Linked DNA regions of Homo sapiens: all the other regions are linked to region 1. The links are contacts of gene promoters, found by promoter capture Hi-C in blood cells and fetal thymus (Javierre and others, 2016). All regions are on one chromosome and are shown on one strand. Each heading gives the region's core, a stretch centred on a gene start or on the middle of the fragment in contact. The rest is flanking DNA. Distances are from core to core; before and after follow the strand shown.

Region 1 (3,581 bases), core at 718-3,217:
ACAAAACATGGGTGTTATTGAAATTCCTGAAATTTTTGGGAAATAAGATTGTTATAAATTTATTCTAAGCTTATTCACAATTTTAAGACTTTTCTTATTTGCCTGTTGATTATTGTGAAATAAACCTGACTGATATTAAAATCAATAAAAAGTGTGCATCAATCAGTTATGAACAAAGTTAGCTTGACAAATCTAGGTATACCATTTATTTAATATGCAGAAATGTTAAATTTGGATGAAATTATTGACAAATACACAGAGGTTAAGGCTCAAAAACAGAAACTGTAATATTATTATTCATTCCTGTGGCAGACCACTATGTAGATATAAGTATTTTTCCTTTGAAAAATACATTAATGCAATTAAAACACCTTGATCCATTTTTTTCCTTTTTTGGTTCTGTACTATTTATTTTGCATTTTATTTTTATATTGGCATATATATGTATGTATATGTTTATATTAAGTTCAATAAAAGAAAATAGTCACTCAATGTTTCTTTTGTAGCCAGTATTATTAGTTTCATTTCATCATTATTTCTTAAAATAATTTTGTCATTTACAGGACAGTTCTGTTAAAAAGGATCTGTTTTGGGTATGAAATGTGATAGGTATCAACTAATGCCTAGTATATAGTTTGCACATAATAAATATTTGTTGATTGAATGAATGAATACATGAATTAATATTGGGACTGTTAATGGGCATATTATGAGCATCTTCTTTCCTCAGAATCCTTCAGGGAGGCCTACAGCAGACCTTGCTCCTGTTGTGAATATTGCAATATACCCTTAGTATATTCTCCTGATAGCACCAAAATCATCCTTTAAAAATGTAAATTAGATCACATCACACCTTTGCTCAAAATCCTCCAATGATTTCCCATCTTATTCAGCATAAAATCCAAATTTATTTTGGCGGCACGAAAGCCCCTACACTGTGTTACTTCGCTACCTCTGAAATTATTGCTCCAGCCTCACTGGACTTTTTCATTGCTGTTCCTTCCGTATGCAACCCTCTTCTCTAAATTCCTCCAGGACTTTTATCAAATGAGCTTATCAGAGTCTTTCTCTCATTGATATAAACCAGTAAACTCCCACCTCATTCCCATACTGTTTTATTTTCCTTCATAGCATTTGTCTCTTTTTTAAAATTTATTATTTATTTTTATTTATTTATTTATTTTTTTGAGACGGAGTCTCGCTCTGTCGCCCAGGCTGAAGTGCAGTGGCGCGATCTCCGCTTACTGCAAGCTCCGCCTCCCGGGTTCACGCCAGTCTCCTGCCTCAGCCTCCCGAGTAGCTGGGACTGCAGGCGCCCGCTACTACGCCCGGCTAATTTTTTTTGTACTTTTAGTAGAGACGGAGTTTCACCGTGTTAGCCAGGATGGTCTCGATCTCCTGACCTCGTGATCCGCCCGTCTCGGCCTCCCAAAGTGCCAGGATTACAGGCGTGAGCCACCGCGCCGGCCTCATTTGTCTCTTTTACTCCTGTAATCATAAGCTCTGTGAGGAAGCCACTATGTTTTGTCTATGCCCCGAACAACTGCCCGGCACAGAGTATGCTCTCCGTGACTTAGTTTTAGAATGAATGAACTTACCCATGTTTCGCAGAGGTAATAAGTTGTTTTTCTTACTATATAATTAATTATTAAAGCAGCTACATTTGGGTATTAAGTCCTTATCTGGACATATCACATATGCCCGAAACAAAATAATTAAAAGTTCTGCACCCAGGAAAATAACTCCCAACTGGACTATTGATAATGTTCTGGAAGGCTTTATCTGGGACCGGGAGGGTCAACCACAGGGGTGAACAGTTTCTCCAGAAGACAGCTGACCGAAACCGCAGCAGTTGCCAAGGCGGCTGGAGGAGGGCGGAGAAAAGGCGGTAACTGGCAGGCAAGGGGCGTAACGGGGTGGGGCTGTCCTAAGGGAAGCCTAGTCGAACTGATTTGTCCCTCTCTGCTCTCCGTCTGAAAACCTTGGCCGAAAGGGTTGTAGACATGGCGGCCATCAGGGTAAGCGAAAACCAACTTGCTTAATTTCTGTGGGTGCCGATAGCATCCCGGTAACTGTAAAAGGGATCCTACTAACTTCTGAAGGAGCCCTGAAACAAGGGGCAGGGTGGAGGTGGGTTTTGAGATAATTGCAATCTTTATCGTTTGAAGCCTCAAGACACCTGCCTTTCCCCATTAGGGTTTTATCAGCCTGGGACGCTGCTCCCTCAATCCCCTGTGGTTGTCGATTTACACAGTGGCACAGTACAAAACTGGGAAACGGCTGGGTGAAAATGGCTGGCCAGGCGACGAGCCGCAGTAGACGTTTCGGTCTTCAGCTGCAATAAAGAGAAAAATATATATATAAACTTGGCATTTGTCTCGGCGCACAGGGCAAGGCCACATGACCCTATGGAAGGACTTTGTTGAAACATTTGGGGTGAAACTGACCAGGATAGAGAGGTCCCATAGTCTTTCAGCAGTGCGCTGGTTTACACATAGTGTTGTTGCTTTCTGTGCTCGAATAACCTGTTCCTTTCGAGTTTTACGCTTGGGAAAGGTGCCTTTACTTGGGAGTCCGTGTACAGTGAGTGACTCAGCTGGCAGCTTGCTGCAGTTCCCTAAGTAGTGTTTAATAATGGTAGTCTACAGATATTTACGTAGCGGGTTTTAATTGTAAAATATTCTGTTAGGCTTGCAGGAGATACAGTATGAATAATTCAGTTCCGCTGAAGTTTTAAGTCGGCAGCGTCTACAGTTCTGGTTCTCATACTTCATCTGAGTTATTTGAACAACCTCCTACCTGAACTTGCCACCTCAAGCCTGGCTCTCATGTAATCTGTTTTCCTCTGTGTTGCCAGAGTACATCTACCAAAATGCAAATTTGATTTTTGCCTCCCCCCGCATTTAAAAAATTTTATGGGCATGTCATCATCTCCCCTCTGGGGTCAGGCCATACTCTTATGTCTAGAACATCTGATTTTACCTAGACTTTCCAGCCTCATCTCTTGTCACTCAGGAACCCTCCTCCTGTCGATACTGAGCTGCTTGCTTGACCCCGCCATGCTTTTTTACGTGCTCTTTCTCTGGGCCTAAAGTGCCTTTTCCCATGCTTATCTAGTTGTATTTATAGTTCATTCATTCATTCAGCAGCTATTTGTGTACAGCCTCCCCATATGCAAAACACAAAAATGCCTTGTTTAATAGTGTCCTTGATCTCCCCAGTCTATTTTATTTTATTTTATTTTTTATTTTTGAGACGGAGTCTCTCTCTGTCTCCCAGGCTTGAGTGCAGTGGCGCGATCTCAGCTCACTGCAACCTCCACCTCCCGGGTTCAGGCGATTCTCCTGCCTCAGTCTCCTGAGTAGCTGGGACTACAGGCGCATGCCAACCATGCCCGGCTAAATTTTTTTATTTTTATTTTTTAGTAGAGACGGGGTTTCACCATGTTGGTCACGCTGGTCTCGAACTCCTGACCTCGTGATTCACCCCCCCCCCCCCCCGGGCCTCCCAAAGTACTGGGATTACAGGCGTGAGCCACCACGCCCGGTCCTCGCCAGTCTATTTTAATAACTCTTGTTTGT
Region 2 (3,581 bases), core at 302-2,801, 4.2 Mb before region 1:
TTGAAGCAATTTAAATATAGTCTTATTGCAAGCAAATTTTAAATCATTTATATTTAGAGTCTATCATACACCGCCAACTTTCTTTAACTTTGTCCGATTTTCCTCCACTTGGATCTTACTTGAAGGAAAGATAGCTGAATTTAGATTTTAGTAACATCATTCCTTTCTCCTTTCACTACCCTCCAATGCACTGTGGCAGCAGCTAACACAAGGGAACCTCCCCCGCAAAATAAAAAGGATCACCTGTTTTTGTGTGTCAATGCTGAACACAAGGTACATTTATACTATGAATTATATTTGCAGGAGAAACAACATAGACCAATGCCTTTGGTCCTTCACTAAAGTATATTCCATTTTTAAATATGTCCATTGTTGTCTCCTTGTAAACCCAAAATCGTGTTTCACCAATTCTCAAAAAGTGATAACTCAGTTTCTATTTAGTGAAAACGGGTCTATGCAAATGCGACTTAACTGATAATTGAATGAGCTTATAAAATCGGAGATACGTAACGATTATGCTTTTACTCAGTAGACCATTACCTAACCGGCAAAATTTGAAATTGGCTTGACGCTCCTTATTATTTTTAATTATGTCGTTTTTCCTAATCCCTGGTCCGTCAATTCCCCTCCAGAGCCCCTTCCTCCCACGCCTCCCCCCTGCCCCCCCGCCCCCCCCAAAAAAGACCAAGCCTGGCCTTAGTTCCCGTATTTCAGGCCAGGACCAACCAGAAACCAGTTTTCTTCCACTAATCCGGAACTCCGGGCTGTTACCAACGCTGTCATTGGCCAGCGTCAGACCTTAGTACGTGCCCCAAGATAACCCCTTGGTTTCTCTCCCTTTTCCGCCTACAATGGGCCTTCCCCAATGTTTGTAACATATTCATAATCCACAACACGGCACCTCTGATAATCAACTCACATTCTTCAAAGTTTTCGGGTGGAAACAAGCAGGGCCAAGGGGAGGGCAAGGTACCCTTTTTCCGACTAGCAGGGATGGGGGAAGGGGCAGTCGTTCTTTGGCTCTGCACCGAGCTCTAGAACCTCGTCGGCTGAGAGGTGGGGGGCGGGTTGGGGGTACAAGGTGGGGAGGGAGTGGTGAAAGAGTTAGGTTAAGTTGAAATGAAAACTTTACTCACCAGATCCTCGAAGCTTCTTCGGTGCTCTTTCCCCTCCCAATCTAAGCGGCGCGGAATCAGCTGGGGGCCGGACGAAAAGAAAGGGGGAAGCGGAGGCAAATGATGAAGGAAAAGCCTCCGCTCCCCATCAACTGGACCCAACCTGTGTCCCAGTCCTCAACACTTTACCGTCTTTATTTCTCTCGGCCTGATAGCTATTGGCTCAGAGCTAGACAAGTATATGGGGGGGGGGGGGAAGGGGGGTCGAGAAGGAAATCCTGAAAAACTGCCTCCCACAAGCATAAAGCGGGGACGAGTTAAGACCCCAGCGTTGTCTGCCCCTTTTGAGGGAAGAAGCCAATTCACCCCGGTGACAACAGCTACGGGTACCCAGATCGAAGCCTCTATCCCAGCCCGTCTTCCGCCCCTGACTTGCCCTCCCCTTCCTCCAGTCTCACCTCAACCCTCCCCACCCTTCCCGAAGGGGCTCCGTACCTGATGCTCCTCGAGCTCCTGCACTAGCACCTGAGCAAAAGGGAAACACAGATATGAGGAGCAGCTCGGGCCATCAACCCATTCCTCCCTCCACACTTAAAGCCCAGCCGCTGACCGTTTGACTAGTCAAGGCCGGCCTTTCCCTCACCCTCAACGGAACTGCTCGTCCCGCTGCCTCGATTTCCCCACTGGGACCATTCACCACGACTCCCAGATCTCTTTCTTCCCCTTACCTGAGCGGATTTGTTGCAGGGTCCAGACTGCAAGAACCTAGCGATCAGGTAATACAGCTCTGGGGAAGAGGGGGGAAAAGAGGTTCAGAGGGAGGTAGAGAAGAGAAATAGAAGCTTTTTCAAAAGAAACTGACAGCCTTCGCGCTAAGCCCCCATTCCCTTAGCACCCCCCCACCCCCCGACACAGCTACCCACCGGCTTCGATCTGGGTAGGTGCTGCCGCCATCCTTTTCCCGAGGGGGTTTGGGGGCTTCGCTCCGGAGGGGCTGGCGGGGGCGGGTGGGGGCGCTGCCTCTATTGTGGTGAAGCCCCCATGCCCGGGAGTCCCGCCGCTTCCGCCGCACTCCTCGTCCTAGTTTCGCTCTCTCTCGAATTCATCGCATCACGTTTCGACCCATAGATATTCTAGCCCAAGAGCTGAGGAGGCGGAGGAGGAAGGAGAGGAGAGGGAGAGGGAGAGAGAGAGTGAGTGAGTGAGAGAGAGAGAGAGAAGAGAGAGAGAGAGAGAGGAAAAAGAGAGAGAGAGAGAGAGAGAGAGAGAGAGAGAGAGAGAGAGAGACGCGGGGGGTGGGGGGGCGGAGAGAGAGAGAGAGAGAGAGATAGACGGAGCGAGAAGAGGGAGGAGCCGAAGTGGCGAAGAGGTGGGCGGGGGCAAAGGGGGTGGAGAGAGGGGAGGGTAAAAATGGTGATAGGGTTTTGCAGCGCTCATAGTTCCCCGCTAGAGGCACTAATACAGCAGCTGAGCCTAGACTCTCCCGGAGCCCGATGGTTGCTTAGCTACAGCTCTGGGAAGGAGGGGGAGGTGCTAACTGACGGCCGACGCTCTGGCAGCCGCCTTGGAACTCTGTGGTGGCATTCGCGTCTGCGAGCTCCGGAGTGACTTTCCCTTCCTGTGAAGGCAATCCGGCCCTTTCCGGTGGAGGACCCTTCCCCCTGGGTTGATCTTGAGGAACTTAAGAGACGGTGTTTTGACTCGACTCCTTTCCCCTTTTTCCTCCCGGTACCAAAGCGGTTTTGTTTGCTGTTTATACTCTACCCCGTGGAAAGGCGGCTAGCTGGCTAAAGGGTTTTATGCCTGGGGGAGGATGAGTCGCTATTTGGTCGTGACTTGTTTCTGTTTAAAATTATTATTATTTACCAAATGAAAATGTTGTACTTACCAGTCCAAAGTGCGGGGCTTATATTGTTAGAAGACCACTTAAAATGCTCCTGGATTCTGACAAATATTGCATGAGAAATTTGCAATCAGCCGTGAAGCATGTTTCCCCTTCTGAAAGTTTAACACGTGCCGTATCTACGGCTGGGATCTAACACATCCCATTCCTACAGGGTAATTTCCTATTGTGTTTTCAAATACTACTAAAGTACTTTAACCAAGAGTTTTCAATAATCTTTATGTATTATTGCCTATCTCTATGCAAGGTATCAATAGTTTTCTACAGGTTCGGGACTACACTGTTTAATATATAACCCCAACCCTTGGTACCGCACTGACCTTCAGTATTTGGTTGCTGAAATCTTCAATGATGAAAGGGGTTGGTATGATAATTGACACAGATTAGTAAACCGGGTCCTTTTCTTCCCTACTTTCCCGTAACATCCTGTCCCCACCCCACTCCCTCACCTAAACCTGATGAGACCAGAAATGCATTTTAAGTTGCATGTATTATTTACATTGAAATATTACAATTTGAAGGTTCATCTAAATTTAAGGCTATATTCTTGGGAATTGGGTTTC
Region 3 (3,581 bases), core at 491-2,990, 3.9 Mb before region 1:
AGTGAGGCAATCTCTGCTCACTGCAACCTCCTCCTCCCAGGCTCAAGCAATCCTCCCACAACAGCCTCCCAAGCAGCTGGGACTACAGGCATGCCCGGCTAATTTTTGTATTTTCTGTGGTGATGGTGATTTTCTATGTTGCCCAGGCTGGTCTCAAACTCCTACGTTCAAGCAATCTGCCCATCTCAACCTTCCAGAGTACTCAGATTACAGGTGTAAGCCACCACGTCTGGCCTTACTTTTCTTTTTAAAAGAAAATATGCTGTATTTACTGTTTTAAAAACTAGTAAGTTGAATATTTAACCTTATATAATAGTGGACTTGAAAAGTAAAATGCAGAAAAAAAAACCTTCTTTTCTTTTGTCACCATTAAATATATCAATTATTACTAAAACTTCAATTTCCCTAAGTTTAGCAATATTTTTTAATAAAGGATTTCATTTATGAACATAATGACAGTTTATACTTTCTTCAACTACAAAGTGATAGGATTAGATGCTCTCTAATGTTTCTCATAGCTTTAACCTTTTATGATTTCAGGAATTCAATCAATATTCTTATGTATTAAGCAATTAGCAGTAAACTAAATATTGAGATTATATCTATTTCTACATGCCTTTAGCCATAACACCAGAGTATATAAGTCCATACAAAATCAATTGTGTCCATTTAAAATTAACATATGCAAATACATCTTACATATATTATATATATAATTATATATAATCTTATATACTTTGCCAACTGTAAAATATTATCAAATGTTAGTTACTACTTTTATTACAAAGCACAACTTTGGGGTTACTACTGTTTTCACCTTTTGTTTTCCCAGGGAAACAGTATTGTCACTATATGATAGCAAAGGCATGTACATTTAATGGGCCTATCCAACTGAAATTGTTTTGTCTCTACCCAGTGAAAATGTCAAAACACTGTGGACAATCACAAAACAGAACAAATAATCCCCACCCAAGGGGTTTACATGTATCATATGATAGAATATAATATATTACTAACTGAACAAAATATAAGCAAAGTAAAATGATCAGCTGTATGCCATTTCAAAAATTATTTTTGAAAAAAAAAGCAAATTTATTTCAATATTCTACGTTGAATATTTACCCTTGAACTTGATGTTCTTTTAGGCTTCACCTCTGGTGTAACTGGCACAAGCATCTGCTTCAAGTTGTGGGAAAAGAAAAGAAAAGGAAAAAAATCATATTTGAAGAAAGAACGCTAAAAATGAAATCCAACCTCTGAATTAAAATAAATGAGTATTAGGAAAAAAAATACATTTCCTTGGTGTGAAAGTTTTTCTTAAAACTTCAAAAATAAATCGTGTATTGAATATTTTAGGATTCCCTAAATTTTAAAATGACGTTTCACAATACATGGGCTGCTTTTTGAAAAGATTACTTACAGCAGACAACCTGGCAGATCTTCTCTTTGGCTATAAGTTAAAAACAAAAATCTGTTAAGAGAATTATGGATACAAAAAGCTAGAATTATTTTTATTGAGGTCAAAATATTTGGTGTAACAATACATAAATATTGTCATTAAGTAATTGTGAATTTGGTTAGAAAATACAAGAGAAATATAAGTTTTGATTTTTCCGTCCTCTGAACACTTTACATACTAAGGAAAAAGTCCCAAATTAAGCTTAAGCAGCTAGGCTAAATTAACACAGTAGCTAGTAACAAGGAGCACATTTAGAAATGAAAATATAGCCTTTTCTTGCCAAATGACAAAGCAATTATTTTGCTTAAAAGGAAGAAGTTCTCTCCACATCTGAACAAGCACAATAAGGTCTTAAATTCGAAGAAGCTTGCAGTTTTTAATACTTACTATATATACATTTTTTTCACACTCAGTATATTTTTATTGTGCATTAATTAGATTAAAATTAATAATATGCATTGACCAAAATATTAGATTAACAAGGCCATAAAGGTAAACTGAGAGGTTTCTTTAATATAATTGTCGCACAACAATGATTCTCGCTTTGTAGGACATATAGAAGATGGCATACTCTAGGAGTTAGAACAATATATATTTAATGCAATAACAAAAACTATATAGTACTTTAAGAAATGTTTCACATATGTGAACAGTCATTTAGAGCCTCAACTTTCTAAAGTAAGCAACATGTAAGCCTGTAAAGTACACACACCAAATCATAGTCTAACCCACAAAACACCCAAATAAAATATTAGCACATCTCTATTGTCAAGAATATTTCCGTACCATCATTTCTATAAAAAAAAGTGAAAAAGCCTTTTCTTTTATTCTGAATGGCAATTTTAAAAAGTCCTCTCTTCTGAAATTCGGATATATATTTTTGAGAGATCCCACTGGTATACCATATTGGAACTCATATTGTACAAATATACCAACCAGCATCTATTTTTTAGCTGCTTATGTCAAGTTTATAAAACGAGTGGTTTTTCCTAATAGATGCTAAGACTAAAGAAACTCACCTCCTGCCTCATATCACCTTGACCTGCAGCCTACACAGAGGAGAAAACCACACAGAAATAAGGTCATTGATATAAACACATAAATCAGAAAATACTGCCTGCGGATTACAAATTTCAATATAATTGCTTATTACTTTCTCCTGGGTTCCTGCTCAAGTAGACACGTGTTGTTTCTTAGGAACCATGCTACATACTGCTGTTTTACTAATGTGCACCAAGATGCAAGTGCATGCACAAGACATACTTTTACACAATTGATAGTTAATTTCATCCTTTTGTGTAAATTGCATCTCCTAAAAGCAAACCTTTGTAATTTTGAAATCCACCTGCTTTAGATAATGTAAAAGCCAAAAATGTGGGGGTGGGTCAAATGAAGGCGGAGCTTCATGCAATTTCGCTTTCTTGCCTTATGTTTGCCATGCAATTGTACCTATCTTATCCTCTCCACTGATTCTGGACTATTTTCTCCAAGTTTTGCATGCAAGAATTACAGCCCCCACAGTGTTTTCTTGGGGAGACCTCTTTGTTACAAAGTCAATGCTTTATTCTAAGAAACTGGCCGCCGATTTTAAAACTTCCCGCCACTACCTGCTTTAAGGTTGCTGTCAGCTCTGGAAAACAGCAAGACCTACTGCACAAGTATAGAAAAGCACAGTGGCGGGAATCTCAGGAAGGGGGGATGGTGATTAGAAACAGTTGTTTTCCATATCTGAGCAGCCCTTTAGCCTGAGAATTATCAAGCTATTGCACGATTCAGACAGCCACAGAGCACGGGGGAATTTCAGTATTATTCCTATGTTTTAGGAATAAGGAAGGCGGAGTTGTTTATAGGAATAATCCAAAAACAATCATAATGTCTTAGCATAGTGTTATACGGTTTTACCAAGCAATGAAACAGCGTTCGATTTCACTTCTAGGGGACTAAGAAAAAAACGCCGAGCGTGAACTTGTTTCCTGTCTGCGAGGAGCCAGGAATTGTGAAGTGAGGGTTTGCAGAAGACCTGTGGAGCTCGAAAGGCTCAGATCAATTCTGCACTACTAAAGTGAACAAATCCATGCTACCCCAACATCAGCAAGTTTATCCGACGCTGTCTCCTTATAAT
Region 4 (3,581 bases), core at 578-3,077, 3.8 Mb before region 1:
TACATGTTGTCTAATATTTCAAAGTAAAATTTGAGTTGCTCAGAGTCTCAACTCAATCCAATAATTGTAAAGTCCAACTTAATGCCTTTAGTTAAACCCCTAATGAGACTGAACAGATCAGGCAGTTAGTTTTGCTTTGGGAGTCATACAGTTTCAATACTGTTATTTATTCTTTGCTTTCTCCTTCCTCTACCCCTTCTTTAAAAGTAGATTCAACAAGAAACTGCTTTCAGAATTTCTATTCAAGTAAGAATAACTGCACCTCTCTTTGTTAAGTCTTAAGTTTCCAAGAGCCTTAGAAATGGCTGCTGTCTTCTATTATTTCCTTTATTGGACTCCTTTTTTTTTTTATTTAGATTTCAACTTTTATTTTAGATTCAGAGGGTACATGTGCAGATTTGATGCATGGGTATACTGTGCAAGGTTTGGGGTACCATTGAACCTCTCACCCTGGTAGTGGGCGTAGTACCCAATAGGTAATTTTACAACCTTTGCCTTCCTCCCTCCCTCCTCTGTAGTCTTCAGTGTCTATTCTTCCCATCTTTGTTGGACTTTATTGTTGAAGACCATGCAAATGGCAGATGTTTATGGTATTTGTATTTTATTTCAATTTTTTGTCATGAGTAGTTAGAAATTTATTAGAAATTTATCTACTGTAGTAATTATAGTTCAATGAACCTGTTATCAAAATTCTACTTCATAATGCCAAAATAAATCCTTGCTTTATTATACTATTACAACACTTTTAAATAATACCAAAACAGTGTAAAGTGAGTACTTCTTTGTAACATGAATGGAGTGGTGATTATTTACTTCAGAAAGGCACTTTTCAGTTTGCTGTACTAAAGTTTTCCTTTAAGATTGATGCCCTGTTTGTTTTAATACATAAGTTAGAAAGTTTTGAGCAAATATCCTGATGGAGTCCTACAATTGCACATAGTGAGATACTTCAATAAGTGACTAAGTTTAGTTGTCTGAAGAACAGTTAAAAGCTTCTTTGCTTTGGATTGGTGGTAGCTGACTGTTTCTTAATCTTCCTACTGGTTGTCATTAAAAAAAAAAACAACAGATGTTATACTGGTTATACTGGGCAGAGTGGGGGATCTGGATCTGTGATAATTGGCAAGACAATGTTAACTTATTATGGTGGCGGGCGCCTGCAGTCCCAGCCACTCGGGAGGCTGAGGCAGGAGAATGGCGTGAACCCAAGAGGCGGAGCTTGCGGTGAGCAGAGATCGCACCACTGCAATCCAGCCTGGGCAACAGAGCGAGACTTTCTCTCAAAAACAAAACAAAACAAAAAAAGTGGCCTAATAGTGAAGAGTAGCACTTGCTTCTTGAAAGTTTAGAAATGAAAACAAGTATGTTGGTCTTTGCAATGGATTTCATTTTTTATTTTTATTGATATATCATAATTGTGCATATTTATGGGGGACATATGATCTTTTGATACATGCACACAATGTGTGATGATCAAATTAGGGTAATTAGGATATCCGTTACCGCAAACATTTATCATTTATTTGTGGTGGGAACATTCCAAACATTCTAGCTGTTTTTTCTAGCTATACAGTAAATTATATTGGTAACTATAGCCACCCTATTGTGCAATTGAACAGTGGATCTTATTCCTTCTATCTAACTGTATTTGTGTACTCATTAACCAACCTCTCTTAATCCTTCTTTCCCCCTACCCTTCTCAGCCTCTGGTAACCACCATCCATTCTACCCAATATCTTCATGGGATCGACTTTTTTAGCTCCCACATGGGTGAGAACGTGTGGTATGTCTTTTGTCTTTCTGTGTTATGTCTTAGTTCACTTAAAATAATGTCCTCCAGGCTCATCCATGTTGTCACAAATAACAGAATATCATTTTTATGGCTGAATAATATTTTATTTTGTGTGTGTATATATATGTGTGTATATATAAGTGTGTGTATATATATGTGTGTGTGTGTGTGTGTATATATATATATATATATATATATATCACATTTCCTTTATTCATTCACCGTTGATGGACACTTAGCCACATATCATAGTTATTTTGAATAGTTCTTTAATAAACATGGGAGTGCAGATATTTCTTTGATATACTGATATCCTTTCTTTTGGATATATACCCAAAAGTGAGATTGCTAAATCATGTGATAGTTCTATTTTTGTTTTTTGAGGAACCTCTATGCTGTTTTCCATGGCAGCTCTAGATCATGTGGTAGTTCTATTTTTGTTTTTTTGAGAAATCTCTGTGCTGTTTTCCATAGCAGCTGTACTAATTTACATTCCCAGCAAAAGTGTACTAGTATTCCGCTTTCTCAGTGCCCTTACCAGCATTTGTTATCTTTTTGGTAATAGCCATTTTAATTGGAGTGAGATGTTATCTCATTATAGTTTTGATTTGCATTTTCCTGATGGTTAGTGATGCGGAACATTTTTTCTTATACCTGTTTGCGATTTGTATGTCTTCTTTTGTGAAATGTTTATTGAAATCATTTGCCATTTAAAAAAATTGGATTATTTGTTTTTTTGTGGGTTTCTTTTTTGCTACTGACTTCCTTATATATTCCACATATTAATCTCTTGTCAGATGGATAGTTGGAAAATATTTCCTCCCATTTTTAGGTTTCTCCTTACTCTATTGATTGTTTCCTTTGCTGTGCAGAAGCTTTTTAGCTTAATATAGTTCCATTTGTCTATTTTTACTTTCATTGCCTGTTTTTGAGGTTTTACCCAAAAAATCTTTGCCCAGACCAATGTAATGGACTTCTTGATGGTAACCATAATAATGATAGTCAGTAGAAGCCCCTAAGTATGTCAGATACTATCTCATTTTTAAAAATAATCCTTTGAATTAAGCACTATGATTATCTCTGTTTTTCAGAGAAGGAAATACAGTATACAGGTTCAAAGAGTAAATAACTTTCTCAAGGTTACACAGTTGGTAAGCCATAGAGCTTGAATCCAAGCAAGATGTTTGAATCCAAAGAATATGTACTTAACCACCAAGAAATGCATCCTCCCAGTGATTTATGGCAACTAGTAGGCATGAGGAAATAAATTTGAACACGAGTAAGAGGTAGGGGAGGAAGTAAGTCCTGTAAGTGGAAGAAGAGTTGCCTGGGCATGTGCATATAGGGGAATAGAGAAATGGGCAGCTAGTGTGTAGGAGGGATATTGTGTCTAAAAGGGAATGTCTGTAAGTAGGGTAAGTGACTGTTCACCCAAGGCCAAGAAGATAGAGAAGACCTACACAGTTGGAAAGCCTAAACTGGTCTGGTATAGGTCAAGGTATAAAATTCAGGCCTTAATACTGTTTAGTTTGATGGGAACCATTTAACAAGAATGCAGCTTCCAAGTAGTCTGTCTATATGAAGTGATTTCTGCCTGTTCAGAATTGTTTATACATGTCTTAACTCACTGTGACACAGGTATATGCCACGTTTTGTTTCTTGAGATTGTAATGCCTTGTAAATTTACATTTAATGGAAAATGAATAGTAATCTCAGAGCCTATATAAGTTAATAAATTGCAATAACTTCTTAACAAAAATCAACATTGGCCTAGGATGAGAATTGCTAG

What was found. Contacts are between HindIII fragments. The CHiCAGO score rates a contact against its expected background, and 5 or more counts as called.
Region 2: a contact is called between a fragment that was not itself captured here and the fragment with the promoter of APOOL in region 1, in 5 of 17 cell types (naive CD8 T cells, non-activated CD4 T cells, total B cells and 2 more). The highest score is 12.3, in naive CD8 T cells.
Region 3: a contact is called between a fragment that was not itself captured here and the fragment with the promoter of APOOL in region 1, in 1 of 17 cell types (naive CD8 T cells). The highest score is 5.2, in naive CD8 T cells.
Region 4: a fragment that was not itself captured here is called in contact with the fragment with the promoter of APOOL in region 1 in 2 of 17 cell types (total B cells and non-activated CD4 T cells); the score reaches 9.2 in total B cells.

What each region holds. Positions count from the first base shown.
Region 1 is chrX:85,001,910-85,005,490 of GRCh38, forward strand. APOOL (apolipoprotein O like) reads left to right here and starts at 1,968. Exons shown (of 9, transcript NM_198450.6): 1 at 1,968-2,018. The coding sequence starts at 2,004. The HindIII fragment of the contact is 4,827 bases long and covers 68-3,581 here.
Region 2 is chrX:80,807,403-80,810,983 of GRCh38, forward strand. BRWD3 (bromodomain and WD repeat domain containing 3) reads right to left here and starts at 2,475. Exons shown (of 41, transcript NM_153252.5): 1 at 2,039-2,475; 2 at 1,844-1,902; 3 at 1,611-1,640; 4 at 1,137-1,196. The coding sequence starts at 2,069. LOC124905202 (a long non-coding RNA gene) reads left to right here and starts at 1,406. Exons shown (of 2, transcript XR_007068278.1): 1 at 1,406-1,891. RefSeq lists an enhancer at 2,710-2,789. The HindIII fragment of the contact is 808 bases long and covers 1,148-1,955 here.
Region 3 is chrX:81,117,310-81,120,890 of GRCh38, forward strand. HMGN5 (high mobility group nucleosome binding domain 5) reads right to left here. Exons shown (of 7, transcript NM_030763.3): 3 at 2,479-2,508; 4 at 1,421-1,450; 5 at 1,123-1,176. Among named protein-coding and RNA genes, the nearest start is that of HMGN5, 83 kb to the right of the region's middle. The HindIII fragment of the contact is 165 bases long and covers 1,659-1,823 here.
Region 4 is chrX:81,203,540-81,207,120 of GRCh38, forward strand. The region is part of intron 1 of SH3BGRL (SH3 domain binding glutamate rich protein like); the gene reads left to right. Among named protein-coding and RNA genes, the nearest start is that of SH3BGRL, 3.2 kb to the left of the region's middle. The HindIII fragment of the contact is 1,675 bases long and covers 991-2,665 here.